Regions from separate parts of the Homo sapiens genome. Here all the other regions are linked to region 1. Evidence: promoter capture Hi-C in 16 types of primary human blood cells and fetal thymus (Javierre and others, 2016). All regions are on one chromosome and are shown on one strand. The core of a region is centred on a gene start or on the middle of the fragment in contact, and the rest is flanking DNA. Distances in the headings are between cores, read along the strand shown. Region 1 holds the start of PAPOLA (poly(A) polymerase alpha). Region 2 overlaps CYP46A1 (cytochrome P450 family 46 subfamily A member 1). Region 3 has its middle 11 kb from the start of CCDC85C. Region 4 overlaps CCNK (cyclin K).

The links. Contacts are between HindIII fragments. The CHiCAGO score rates a contact against its expected background, and 5 or more counts as called.
Region 2: a contact is called between a fragment that was not itself captured here and the fragment with the promoter of PAPOLA in region 1, in 3 of 17 cell types (non-activated CD4 T cells, fetal thymus and naive CD8 T cells). The highest score is 7.4, in non-activated CD4 T cells.
Region 3: a contact is called between a fragment that was not itself captured here and the fragment with the promoter of PAPOLA in region 1, in 1 of 17 cell types (non-activated CD4 T cells). The highest score is 5.6, in non-activated CD4 T cells.
Region 4: a fragment that was not itself captured here is called in contact with the fragment with the promoter of PAPOLA in region 1 in 5 of 17 cell types (total CD4 T cells, naive CD8 T cells, non-activated CD4 T cells and 2 more); the score reaches 13.0 in total CD4 T cells.

Annotation. Positions count from the first base shown.
Region 1 is chr14:96,500,833-96,504,007 of GRCh38, forward strand. PAPOLA (poly(A) polymerase alpha) reads left to right here and starts at 1,550. Exons shown (of 22, transcript NM_032632.5): 1 at 1,550-1,768. The coding sequence starts at 1,761. It overlaps PAPOLA-DT (PAPOLA divergent transcript), which reads right to left and starts at 1,494. Exons shown (of 1, transcript NR_122121.1): 1 at 816-1,494. RefSeq lists enhancers at 255-851, 852-1,446, 1,364-1,623, 1,447-2,042 and silencers at 962-1,305, 1,744-1,863. The HindIII fragment of the contact is 10,690 bases long and covers 1-3,175 here.
Region 2 is chr14:99,685,439-99,688,613 of GRCh38, forward strand. All of the region lies in intron 1 of CYP46A1 (cytochrome P450 family 46 subfamily A member 1), which reads left to right. Among named protein-coding and RNA genes, the nearest start is that of CYP46A1, 2.7 kb to the left of the region's middle. The HindIII fragment of the contact is 3,529 bases long and covers 1-3,175 here.
Region 3 is chr14:99,613,209-99,616,383 of GRCh38, forward strand. It overlaps a transcript of HHIPL1 not described here. Among named protein-coding and RNA genes, the nearest start is that of CCDC85C, 11 kb to the left of the region's middle. The HindIII fragment of the contact is 4,207 bases long and covers 1-3,175 here.
Region 4 is chr14:99,503,755-99,506,929 of GRCh38, forward strand. All of the region lies in intron 9 of CCNK (cyclin K), which reads left to right. CCDC85C (coiled-coil domain containing 85C) reads right to left here. Exons shown (of 6, transcript NM_001144995.2): 6 at 1-3,175. Among named protein-coding and RNA genes, the nearest start is that of CCNK, 24 kb to the left of the region's middle. The HindIII fragment of the contact is 162 bases long and covers 1,539-1,700 here.

The DNA.
Region 1 (3,175 bases), core at 300-2,799:
TTTTTTTTTTTTTAACTTTTTGTATAGACGGGGGTTTCCCTATATTGCCCAGGCTGGTCTCTAACTCCTGCCCAAGCGATCCTCCCACCTCAGCCTCCTAAAGTGCTGGATCACAGGTGTGAGACACCGTGCCCGGCTTACATTTTCTTTACTGCAATATATCCAAAATATTTCAACGTGCAATCAATATAAAAAGTGATCAGTGAGGTATTTCACATTCGTCGAACTGACACCCGTGCGTATTTTGCACTTCCAGTGCCTCCTAAACGAACTAGCCTCATTTCAAGTGCTCAGTGGCCCTAAGTGGCCAAGGGGCTACACTAATGGACAGGGCAGGTCTAGGTCCTGTGTTTTTCCCATTCGGAGTCACCAGTCCTACTAGACATTCTGTGAAAAAAGGGAAAGCCTTTGTGAAACTTCCTGAGGACTCACAAATGCACATTATTACATTTAGAGTTTAGAACTTTGGTTAAGGCAGCGTCCTGTATTTGATTCTTTCCCTCTTCCTCTCCGCTAACCCCCTATGTGACACCGTAGAACTTATAATTCGTTCTAATTCGCAGATGGAGGGCATATGAGAGAGGAGGCTCTGCCTCAAACACTTTCTCAAACTTTTGCCGAGGGGTGGCGAGAAGGTAGACTTCCAGGTCCCACCCGATATAGATTAAGGGCTGGAAACACAGTCAAGGGGAAATTATGACCAAGACAACCTTTGCTAAAATGCCAGCGGTGACTGCCATTGATGTTCCTATAAAAGGTCAGCTCTGTCAGGAAGTTCCAGTGCATCATTTGTTCAAAAGTAAAATCAGCCCGTGTTCCAGAATTCGCGGACTGTCGTCAGTCCTAACCTACACATTTATTCGTTCAACAAATATTTCAGCGCCTGGGTCAGGCATCAGGAATACACTGGTGGTTAAAACAGACGGAAAGCTCCATCTGGTGGGACGCAGTCTGGGAGGGAAAGGGAGTCCTGGGGACATGTTTTCGTCGGCTCTAGGCTAAGCACCTCTCGCCGTAGCACACGGGGTCGGCACCGCTGCCCGGCGAAGTACTTGTTACTTTGCAGTCCAGTACGAAGCGGCGGAGTAACCGGTTCCAACCCAAGGCAGCGACTCATGCGAGTCGTTCTAAGCGCCGCGCTGGGGGGTACATACGGTGCACGCGTGGGTGCCTCACCCCCTGGCAGCGCCTCCAGGGACGCTGCTCCGGGAAAGAGCAGCCGCCGCGACCTCAGGCGGCGGGAAAGGTGGGACCTCACAATGCGCCGGAAGCGGTGCCTCGTGGCTTGGGATCTCTCCGGGTTCTTCCTTGCGCCGTCCACGCCGCACTGCCCACGAGGGCGTCCCCGCCCGAGGGACAACTCACCGCCCGGGGCCTCCCTGAGCGTTCCCTTCCACCATCTGACACCCACTGCTAAGTGTGAGAGGACCCAGGGGGTAATTGCCGGGCCGCAGGCGGCCTTAGGAACTCCGCTTCCCGTGAGGCTTCGCGGCGGACGGCGCTGGTGCGCAGGCGCACGCACGGCGTGCGTGGTGGCGTCAGCAGTTCTAGAACGTTGCTGTGGTAGCGCTCGGGCGCCATGTTAGGACGAAGGGGAAGGAGGAGAAGCGCTTAAAGCGGCGGGAGCGGTGCGGGAGAGGGGTTGGACCCAGGGCTGAGGCAGGCCCCCCCCTCCCTCCCGCCTCAGTGGATCATGCCCAGGGCGGCAGCGGCGGCGGTTGCGGGGGGGAAGTGACTGGGCGGTGCCGGCGCCGGAGACGATGCCGTTGTAAGTAATTTGTATTCTGTTTTCTTTCGCTCGCCGGCTGGGCCTTGGGGGGCGTCCGGGAAGGGGAAGAGGTAGGCGGAGAGGGTGGCACGCGAGCCCGACCCTCCCCGCTGGTAGGAGGCAGGCAGGACTGGGGACCTTCCTGTTTCCTCGCTCGCTCGCCGCCGCACTTCCCCCCGTGTGCTGGGTTCCCGCGTCCCCCGACCCTTCCTGGCTGGGTCAGCTGCCGTCGGGCCGGGGGCCTTCCCCTTCCGGAATTGCTGGCGGAACCTCTAACTCGCCCGGCCACTCCAGCTTCTCCGCCCCGTCCACAAAGAAAATCAAAACAACCCGAAAACAAAACATTGCCTGGTGGTGGGGAACCACGACCCTGCTGCACGCGGGATCAGCACTTGGGGTTCGGGCTCGCTCTCGGCGCCCCTCGGGCCCATTCGATGTTGCTTTTCTGTTCCTGGTCTGTCTCAGTTTGCTCACTCTCTTCCTCCCATTTCCAGATGCCTGTCTTGTGCGCCGGAGTTAGCCCCTTTCCACTGACCTTGTCTGAATGTAGGAGCACGAGTTAAAAGCCCAGCTTTGAGCGTTGAGTCCGCCTGCCTCCACCTCCGCCTCCCTAGCATTCACAGGCGGTCGGAGAAGGGGGCACTTCACAGGGTGCCCTCCTCCAAAACGACTTATGTATTGCTTTCCCTGTTTTGTTTTGATGGGGTAACCAGGTTTCATTCTGTTTCCTTCTTTCTCTATCTCTGGTGATACTTTTTTTTTCCTGGTTGTAAGGCTTGAAGCTAGTCTCTTTATGCTTTCTAATGCCACTGCGCCTTTTTCTTTTCTTGGTGGGTTTTTAAAAAGTTTTTTTCTCCCCTCCCCCTTTCTGATAATGAGATATAATTTGGCAGCTCATTGCCAGTAGATTACGGATTTTTTTTTTCCTGCAAATATACAGCATTGTAGAGGCCTAAATAGTGAGACTGCATTTCTTCCATTTTTGAATATTGAAGCGTAAGAGTGCCTCTTTGAGACCAGGGACCGAGTTTTCTTCATCTTAGTAGCCTCAAAACGCAACATGTAATTGACACTCAAAGTTTTGGTTAAATTCAGGATAAAGATTTTTGTGGTTTCTAGACATCGAATGTAGTAACTCAGGTCTATTTTTTTTTTGTAAGTAAGGATAATTTCTTTAGCACATAATCACCGATTGTAGTTTTACAATTATATATGTGTGTGAATGTGTTTCTTTACAGGTGAGACTCTAACTTTGGCACAGACCTTAATGACTTCTATCGCAATTTATGTATTTTAAAAGGATTTTCCATGGCTCCCACCCACCCCCTTAGGTTATTAAGAAGTCTATCACATTACTTCTGTGATGAAAACGTTTGTTAGACTTAACTAACTATACAGGTCTAAAAT
Region 2 (3,175 bases), core at 195-2,694, 3.2 Mb after region 1:
GACTTCTCAGGGGCCATCACCTCTGAGGTTACCTTCTTTCCACCTGTTGACTGTCTGTTCACCTGTTGACTGTCTCCCCCTCTAGAATGTGAGCCCCGGGAGGACAGGGACACTCTGTGTTCGCTTGTGTATCCCCAGTGCCTGGCGTGTTGCAGATCTCAATAAATATTTGTTGAATGAATGAATAAACAATTGTATTAGACACACTTTTTAAAATCTCAGGACATGAATATTCTGGAAGGCACCCATCTCCAGCACAAGCCAGATGTACTGGCGTTAGAAGCCTGAATCTCTGCTTGATGGGTTCAGGAAAGATCTCTGTGGCTGGTGACATAGGGAGGCACCTGTTCTCCCTGCTGGCTCTCTGCCCTTCTGGTGCTCTCTCTCTCTCTCCTTGCTTAGCTCCTCTGCCTTCTACTTTACCTGGATGCTTCTTCCCCCAGCCTTCCAGGTTTGGCTTCAATGCTAACTCCTCAGGGAGGTTCCTCCTGCTCCCCCAAAAATATTATGTTCATTTTATAAACCCTGAAATCACTGTAATTTTCCTTTACAGCATAATGTTAATTGGGCAATTATTTGTGCAAGTTTTTCCTAAGTGTCTCTTTTCCATGGGCCCCCTGTCTGTCTCAGTCACTGCTGCATCTCCGACATGTAGCAGCACATTGTACATGCATAGTAGACACTCTATGAATAGCAATTCAAGGTTGAATGGTGGAAATCTCCCGTGAGTTCCGTGGTGGACACTATCACCCTCTCAAGTTTTCAGAGAAGCCATCAGCACTTAGAATTGAATGAGTTTGGTGCTTGTTCTGATAAGTTTCATCGTTACTTGGTCTTCTCATAAACTCAAATGACCTGTTCTGGTCTCTGTGTCTTGAGAAAGCAGAATTTAAATCATCTTAAAAAAAATTGAAATGTAACTTGCATTCCACAAAATGTATTCTTTAGTGTATGATTCAGTGGTTTTTGGTACATTCACAGCACTGTGCAGCCATCGCCACCGATTTCAGAACTGTTTTGTCACCCCAGAAAGAAACCCCGTACCCATTAGCCATCACTCCTCATTTTCTCCCACCCCTCACAGCCCTGGCAACCATGAATCTGCTTTCTGTCTCTGTGGATTTGCCTGTTCTGGACATTTCATATAAATGGAATCATACAATATGTGGCCTTTTGTGTCTGGCTTCTTTCACTTAGTATAATGTTTCAAAAGTTCATTCATGTAGTAGCATGTATCCTTATTGCTTTCCTTCTTATGGCTAAATTCTTCCCAAATCTTATACCACAGAGTCTACATGTGACCTGAGTGTGTGGGGTGCGGAGGGAGCAGTGGGAGGAAGATGAATATAATCATGATTGGGCTATTTATTCTAAGGAGGTGAACTGAACAATGCATATATAAAAAGATTTTGGATTAAAAATTGGTTAGTGGTCAAATATAAAACTGCACTAAATGAAAGTTCTGGAAACTCTTCTAGCAGAAACCCGATGCCTTGACATTAAAAGCCTGGATCTTTAAACTATGATTGGCGATACTGTGGTTGACGAGAGATCTGTGTGTTGAGTCTCCAGTAGTAGCATTTGCCCCCGGGTACCCCAGGGCTTTGCCAGCTGGCAGGCAAGGAACCCTCTCGCTGCAAGAGGCAACTCTTCATCTTCCTCATTCTACAGGAGGCCCTCCCTCAGTGCCCCTCCTCTGTGCTTTTCTTACCACATCCTACTGCACCGATCCGTGTAACAGCTGAAAACTCAGACCCCCACACTCAGATCCCACACAAACACCTGTAGCTTCTTTATTTCTCTGTCACTGTTCTAACTTCCCTCATCAGCCCCTACTCTCCTGGTAATGTGGGAGTGGATGTAAACTTGACAATGAAAGGTCTTTCTCTCCCAATTTTTATTTATTTGGGGATAAATTGACTCCTCCTGGACAGTTCTGGTTCCACTCCGATTTGCCCAGTTGCTGGGGTGGGGCTGTTCAGCAAGGAGCAGGGTGGCCAGCCATGGGGGAGCCCCACAGCTGGCTCTGGCGGGTGGTGCATCTGATGAGCTTTGGGTGCCCAGCTGAGCACTCGCCACCCTGCCCCTCTGGCATGAGCCACAATCATGGTCCCTCACCCTCACGCCTACCCCTAGTGGGTAGCCCGCTCCTCCACTACTGGAGCATTCCCTTCATCCCTCTGGGTGACTTCACTGTGGGCTCTCCAGATGGCCTCTCCTCGTTCACTGGCCAAGGTTTTCTCTGCCCACAGGAGAGCTTGGGTCCCCACTCAGCCAATCATGATGTTGCAGGAAACTGGATGTGCTGGAGAGGTGTGGGGTGGTGGGCGGTGGGGGATTGCCTCTCCTCTCTCCCAGGGCTGCTCTGCTGTGTCCAGTCTATCACCAGGGACATGCCAAGTGGGCTTCTGCCTGCCGGGGCGCTGAGCAACAAGTCCCCATGTCTGGCCATGGTGTTAGCCTTACCTGCTTGTTTTTAACACCTGGGTCTTCCTGTTCTGTTGTCGCCTCCCCAGCGCCCCCTGCAGGTGCCAGAAGGAATGGGTTTTTTTTCCCCTTTCTTGGTGGGCCATGAGGACCCCACCCCTCTCTGTGCCCTCTGTCTTCCTGAGATGGCACTCACCTTCCTTCCCATGTGGCAGGGAACCCCAGGGGTTAGGGTGGAAGCTCTGGGCTCAGACTCTGTCCTCACTTAAGTGACTCAAAACTGAGAACATTCCCCCAGAATGTGAGCTTTGGGAAGCGACAATGAGGACACTAGATTACTCTGGAAATACATCCAGGCATGTGTGATGATCACAGCCCATCTTCCTGCAAGTTCAAGGCCACTCACCTGGCGTGGGCCTCCACTGCGGGCAGGCGGCCACCCCGTACTTCCTTCCCCAGGGCGTTTATTCGCCTACTCTCCCTTCCTGCTTCAGTCCCCATCACCTCCCCCTCCATCCGCACTCTCAGCTTTTATTCTTGCCTCCTACTTCCCTGAGCAAAGGGAGCAGCCGGTGAGAGTTTCCTTCCTGGGCTCCACTGAGCAGCTGCCCACCTCCTGCCCCAGGCCCACGCACACCTTCCAGCTGTTCCGGGAGGGTAGCCCAGGCCAACCTGCCCCCTCTGCTCAGCAACCCTGTCCTAGGAGCACCCCCACCTCCAAATCAGCACTTTTCCTCCTCTTCTGCAT
Region 3 (3,175 bases), core at 381-2,880, 3.1 Mb after region 1:
ATAACAACGAGACCAGGAGGCCCACTGTTCCCCAGTGACAAACTTCTTTTTGTTTTTTAGTTTTTTTTTTTAATAAGCCTTATAATTTTATTTTTGAAACTCCATACATGTGGTTTTTTTTAATTAATTTTTTTTTAGACAGAGTCTCACTCTGTCACCCAGGCTGGAGTGCAGTGGTGCCATCTCGGCTCACCACAGCCTCGACCTCCTGGGCTCAAGCAATTCTCACACCTCGACCTCCTGAATATCTGAGACTACAGGTGCATACCCACATCCCGCTAGTTTTTATACTGTTTGTAGAGGCTGGTCTGGAACTCCTGGGCTCAAGTGATCTGCCACCTCAGCCTACCCAAGTGCTGGAATTATAGGTGTGAGCCACGTTGCCAGGCCTGAATGTGTTTTTAAATTTAAAGTTCCAGGCCGGGCACAGTGGCTCATGCCTGTAATCCCAGCACTTTGGGAGGCCGAGGTGGGCAGATCACTTGAGGTGAGGAGTTCGAGACCAGCCTGGCCAACATGGTAAAATCCCATCTCTACTAAAAATACAAAAAAATTAGCCGGGCGCAGTGGTGCACACCTGTAATCCCAGCTACTCAGGATGCTGAGGCAGGAGAATCACTTGAACCCAGGAGTGGGAGGTTGCAGTGAGCCGAGATCATGCCGTTGCACTACAGCCTGGGCGACAGAGTGAGATTCCATCTCAAAAATAAATAAATAAAATAAAAATAAAATTCCTAGCATAGAGCCTGGGAACTCAGTAAATGTTTGTTGAATGAATGAATGATAAAGAAGGAAGCTGAGTTAAGTTGAAAAACCCTGGATGTAAAATCTGTGTCTCTGGCCTGACCCTTACCAGCAAGGTGGCCTTAGGCAAAGCTGCACTCCCTCTCTGAGCCTCTGGATCAGGACCGGAAAATAGGACCATTTCATCCTCCTTGTAGGATGAGGAGATAGTCAAGTGACAAGAAAAGGAGGCGTGAACCCCAGGCCACACGGTGAGGCGGGAGGGGATGCTCTCCTCGAGAAAGGGCTGAGTCCTGTGGGTGCCCCGGAGCCCAGAGTCTTCCTGAGCGTCTGAAAACTGAACTGAAGAGCCAAGCCTTCTCTCAAGAGTAGCTCGCCCAGCTCAGCCCCAACACCAGGCCACAGAACTCTGCAATGAGGAAGCTCCATCTCAGCACCCTGAACTCACAGAGCCCCTGTGAGCAAATCAGAGCCCAAGAGGCAGCTAGCTGGTCAGGCTCTCGGAGCAAGGGCAGCAGGTCAGCCCTTGGGCTCTCAGCCCCAGCCACCCTTAGAATCACCGGAAAGCATGTGAAATGCAGATGCTCAGGTCCCACCCCAGACCAAGTCCATCAGAATCTTGGGAGACAGTGATTTAGCAGCCAGATCTGCTCTGAGCTACATGAGGCACTTGTTTGTTGGCATCAGGCTGAGCTAGGAGACACTCCCATTGCTGTGGGGTACACCCCTCCCCAAGCATCTGACCTTAGAGATCTTTCTCTAACGTTATCCAGATTCCCCAAATAATCCTCAAATGTGCTACTTCGAATGCATACACCTAGTGACGCTGGAGGGGACGAGGGTTTCCGGAGGCCAGGATAGCGTTCACTTAATGCCCTGATTTTTTTGTCCCGTATCTAATGGGATAAAATGAAAGGAAAGAAAGTAATAAAGATATAAAATCAAAAAATTATCTGGGACTCATGGACACAAGTCTCTCCATAAAAAGGGCCAGAAGAGAAGTGGAAAATAGACCATACTGGGCACATTATTGTAAAACTTCACAACACCAGGGTTGAGAAAATCCTCAAACCATGGTGCGTAGAGTGCGGAGAAAAGGAATCAGAATGATGTTGACATTCTCAACAGCAAGTCCAAAAACTAGAAGGTCATGAAGCGATGTCTCAGCATCCTGAAGGAAAACTATTTTAGTACCAATGCAGTCCAGGGGGAGGGCAGAGTGAGACATTTTCCAATTAAAAAAAAATAGAAAAATTATTTCCCAGACATCCTTTCTCTAAAATTAGGAATTAAACCAAGAAATAAGACATGAAGCCCAGGCACAGTGGCTCACGCCTGTAATCCCAGCACTTTAGGAGCCCAGCCTCCCAGATTGCTTGAGCCCAGGAGTTCAAGACCAGCCTGGGCAACATGAGGAAACCCTATCTCTACAAAAAATTCAAAAATATGGGCTTGGTGGTGCATGCCTGTGCTCCCAGCTACTCAGGAGGCTGAGGTGAGAGGGTTACTAGAGCCCGGGAGGTTGAAACTGCAATGAGCTGTGATTGTGCCACTGCACTCCAGCTTGGGTGGCAGAGTGAGACTCTGTGTCAGAAAGAAAAGAAAAGAAAGGAAGGCAGTTAAAAGAAAAGAAGAAAGAAAGAGAGAGAGAGGAAAGGAAGGAAGAAAGAAAGGAAGAAAGAGAAAGAAAGGAAGAGAGAGAGAGAAAGAAAGAAAAAGAAAGAAGGAAGGAAAGAAAGAAAGAGAAAGAAAGAAAGAAGGAAAGAAAGAGAAAGAAAGAAAGAAAAAAAGACATGAGATTCAGACAACAGAGAAAGGAAGGTCCAGGGTGAGGGCTTTGCAGACAGAAGCAATCAGCGCAGATTTGAAAAGGAGGCTCCCGGAGGAACTGCCCAAGCTCACGGATTCCCTTGGTAGGAGTGCTTGGCTGTTTGGAGAGGAATATTAGAGCTCTGTCGGAGTTTGGTGAAAAGCCCAGAAAAAACCAAGCAAGTCAAAACAAGGAGGCAATTATTAATCCCCAGGGAAACCCAGAAGTTGTACAAGGAAGGAAATCCAATCAGGCCATACCATGGCTCAGCTGGCCATAATGTTTATATAGAGTCACGTGCTGCTCCATCACATTTTAGTCGGGGTCACATACACCACGGTGGGCCTGTCAGATAATATTGTGTTCTTACTGTACCTTTTCTATGTTTAGACACACAAATTCTTGCCATTGTGTTACAGTTCCTACGATATTCAGTACAGGTACATGCTGTACAGATTTGTGAGCCTAGCAGCAATAGGCTAGACCATCTGGCCTGGGTGTGCAGTGGGCTATCCCATCTAGCATTGTATGCTCCATGACAATGATGACAGCAACTAATGACACATTTCCCAGATCATATCCTCGTCATTAAGTGACACGTGACTGTAGCATAATATGTAA
Region 4 (3,175 bases), core at 370-2,869, 3.0 Mb after region 1:
TTAGAGCTCATACAAAACTTTTCCATCAGCATTGTCTTTCTGTTCATCACCTGATCATAGATTCTAAAATTGTGCTCTTACGAAGCTATCAGTACAGAAAACATTACTGGCAATAAAAATGTACTCAGTAACATATATAAAAGTATAATTATGGCTGTAGGAGAACTGTTGCTGCAATTTTATTTTTAGAGACTATTTACCCCCATCACAGCAGCAGGAGTCCTCTCCCAAGCACCAAGCCACAGCAGATGCGGGGGGGCAGTAGGGGGTGGTGTGCTGCCCGGACAGCACCAGCCCGGCCCAGCCCAGCTGCCCTTGCAGGCAAGGCCTCTTTGAAACACACTTGGGTTGAGGTGCTGTCACATGTCTAGAACCCAAAGTTAGTTCATGTCAATATTGGAAATAAACAGAAGGAGTGAGCAAAATTGGAACAATTACAAAACAGAAAGTTAGAAATGTTTTGTCACAGGGTCAGTCCACCTATCATACTGAACTCTTTGAAGGCACAGACCCTATTGACTCATTTGTCTTTCTTTGTTACTTGGTTCTTAGTTCCAGTAGTTCCTGGTTCTTAGAACCATGTTCTCGGTTCTTAGTTCCATTCATTAAACTGCTGTGAAATCTTCCAGTTATGATAGAGCTACTTTTTTTTTTTTTCCAGTATATTTGAGGGAATGATGAGTTCAGTACAGGTGAATTTTTTTTTTTTTTTTGAGACAGAGTTTCACTCTTGTTGCCCAGGCTGGAGTGCAGCGGTGCAATCTTAACTCACCACAACCTCCGCCTCCTGGGTTCAAGCAATTCTCCTGCCTCAGCCTCCCGAGTAGCTGGGATTACAGGCATGCACCACCAGGCCTGGCTAATTTTGTATTTTTAGTAGAGACAGGGTTTCTCCATGTTGGTCAGGCAGGTGTCAAACTCCCGACCTCAGGTGATCTGCTCGCCCCAGCCTCCCAAAGTGCTGCGATTACAGGCATGAGCCACCGTGCCCAGCCTACAGGTGAATTTTTTAATTAGCTTCAAATTGACCGACATTAAATGTTAGACACAAGAACGGGCTACACTCCATGCCACATGAAATGCAATTGAGTTGACGTGCAGGTCTGTCAGAGGCAGGAAACAAACTATATATGACCTTGAAGGAAGAGTTGCATTTGAGCAGCGAGAGCAGAGGGGGAGGATGGAGCAATAAGTTGGAAGTACGCAAGTGAGCAAAGGAATTGAGAATCAGGGGAAATGGAGAGGAGTCTTTCTGGAATGTGATGAATTGAAAGGCAATAGCTTCTGATAGGATCTAAAATGTGGGTTAGGACCAGATCACAGAGTTTACCTGGAGGACTGTGAGTTTGGCAGAGGCAAGGGAAGCCATTGGAGATTTAGCAGGGGAATGGCAGAGTCTAAATTCATTTGAGAAGGAGTCCCCTGGCAGCAGTAAATAGGGCAAGTGGTTAGGAATGGGGAGAATCTTGCTGGCACTCATGGGAAACATGGTGGCCTCAGCATGCTGGCTGCGGGGCAGGAAGGGCAGATCCGGAGGAAGCTTTATAGAGGAACTCAGCTGCACTGTGCCATGCCGAAGGCTACTGGCTGCAGAGGGCTGCAAGCACTCGAAATGTGACTGGGTCAAATTCTGAAGCACTGACAATGCAAAATACACAGAGATTTCCAAGAAAGGAGAACGTAAGACATCTCATTAGTAAAGCTTTATATTGGTTACATGTTGAAATAAAATTTTCGATCTATCGGGTTAAATAAATTTTATCCTTTTTCCTTTTATTTCCAGAGTCTTGCTCTGTTAATGCAGGCTGGAGTGCTCCTTTTTCTTGTTAAAGTGGTTCCTGGCACACTTGTAATCCCAGCACTTTGGGAGGCCAAGGCATGCTTTGAGCCCAGGAGTTCCAGGCCAGACTGGGCCACATAGGGTGACCCCATCACTACACAAAACTTAAAAATCAGCTCGGCGTGGTGGCGCCACACCTATGGTCCCAGCTACTTGGGAGACTCAGGCAGCAAGATCACTTGAGCCTGGTTGGTTGAAGCTGCAGTGAGCCATGATTACATTACTACACTCCAGCCTGGGTGACAGAGCGAGACCCTGTCTCAAAAAATAAAATGGCTCCTGGAAAGTTTAAAATTGTAGATATGTGGCTCTCAGTTATATTGCTGTTGGACAGCCCTGATGTAGACGGCTTTAGCTAACTATTACCAGCTGTGGAAAAAGGCAGGAGGTGGGTCCCTGAGGTGAGAGTAATAGCAGTTATAGGATACAGAGGCAAAAGGTAGAGTGTGAGGTGCTGATTGGTGGGTCTAGGGATGGGCCATGGTTTTGGTGGCAAGATGGACGCTAGAAATGTAGGTTTGTAGTTGTCCACTTAGAGAGGGGCTTTGGACTCTGAGGAAGAGGGTGAAGAGAGAGGAAGTCCCTGGAACTTAAATTGAGCCTGTATTTGAGATGGAGGAAATCCAGAGAAAGAGGCCAGTGATGGCAGAGGAGACTCAGATCTGAGTGGTGTACAAGCCAGAAGAAAGTACATTTCAGGAAGAAAAAGCCTCAGCATGCAAACAGAAAAATAGGGTTCTTTTTCAGTTGTGATGTGCACGCTGCCTTCTTAAACGGATGAGATTGGACTTCCCTTGGGCTGCCTTGGAGACCTAGTGCTGTCATTGTGGATTCTGGCTGCGTGCCGCTGCCTGACCCCGGAAGGGTGGGCTGTTTCCTCCACCTCAAGGGGTCCTGACTGCTGGGCTTTTGTGAGCGGCACATTCTTCCTGCCATCAGTGTGTCAACCTCCAGAGCTCTGCTGACTCCAGTTAATGTGCTGCTTCTGACATGCTGCCAACTGGAAGTCAGTATTTGGGAAAGAGAGAATAAACTATGTCTAAGAATGAAAAGATAGAGATTCTCTTGTGGAACCCTCAGGGGACTCAGTGACATGATGTTGCTACTCTGGACCCTTCTTTGTGTCCTCTGTACCAGGGAGGACTCCAGATAGGTCATACATGCTCATGAAGACGTTGCTCTGCTGGTCTCACATGGTCGGAAGGACTTGAGTGAAGTGGTCAGCAAGGAAACTTAGGTAGACATGGAAAATGGGCTGCCTGTGGGAAGCTCGCAGGTCTTTTGGAGGGAGGTGGCATTTAATTTGTTAACAGGATTCATGCATAATGGTTTAGC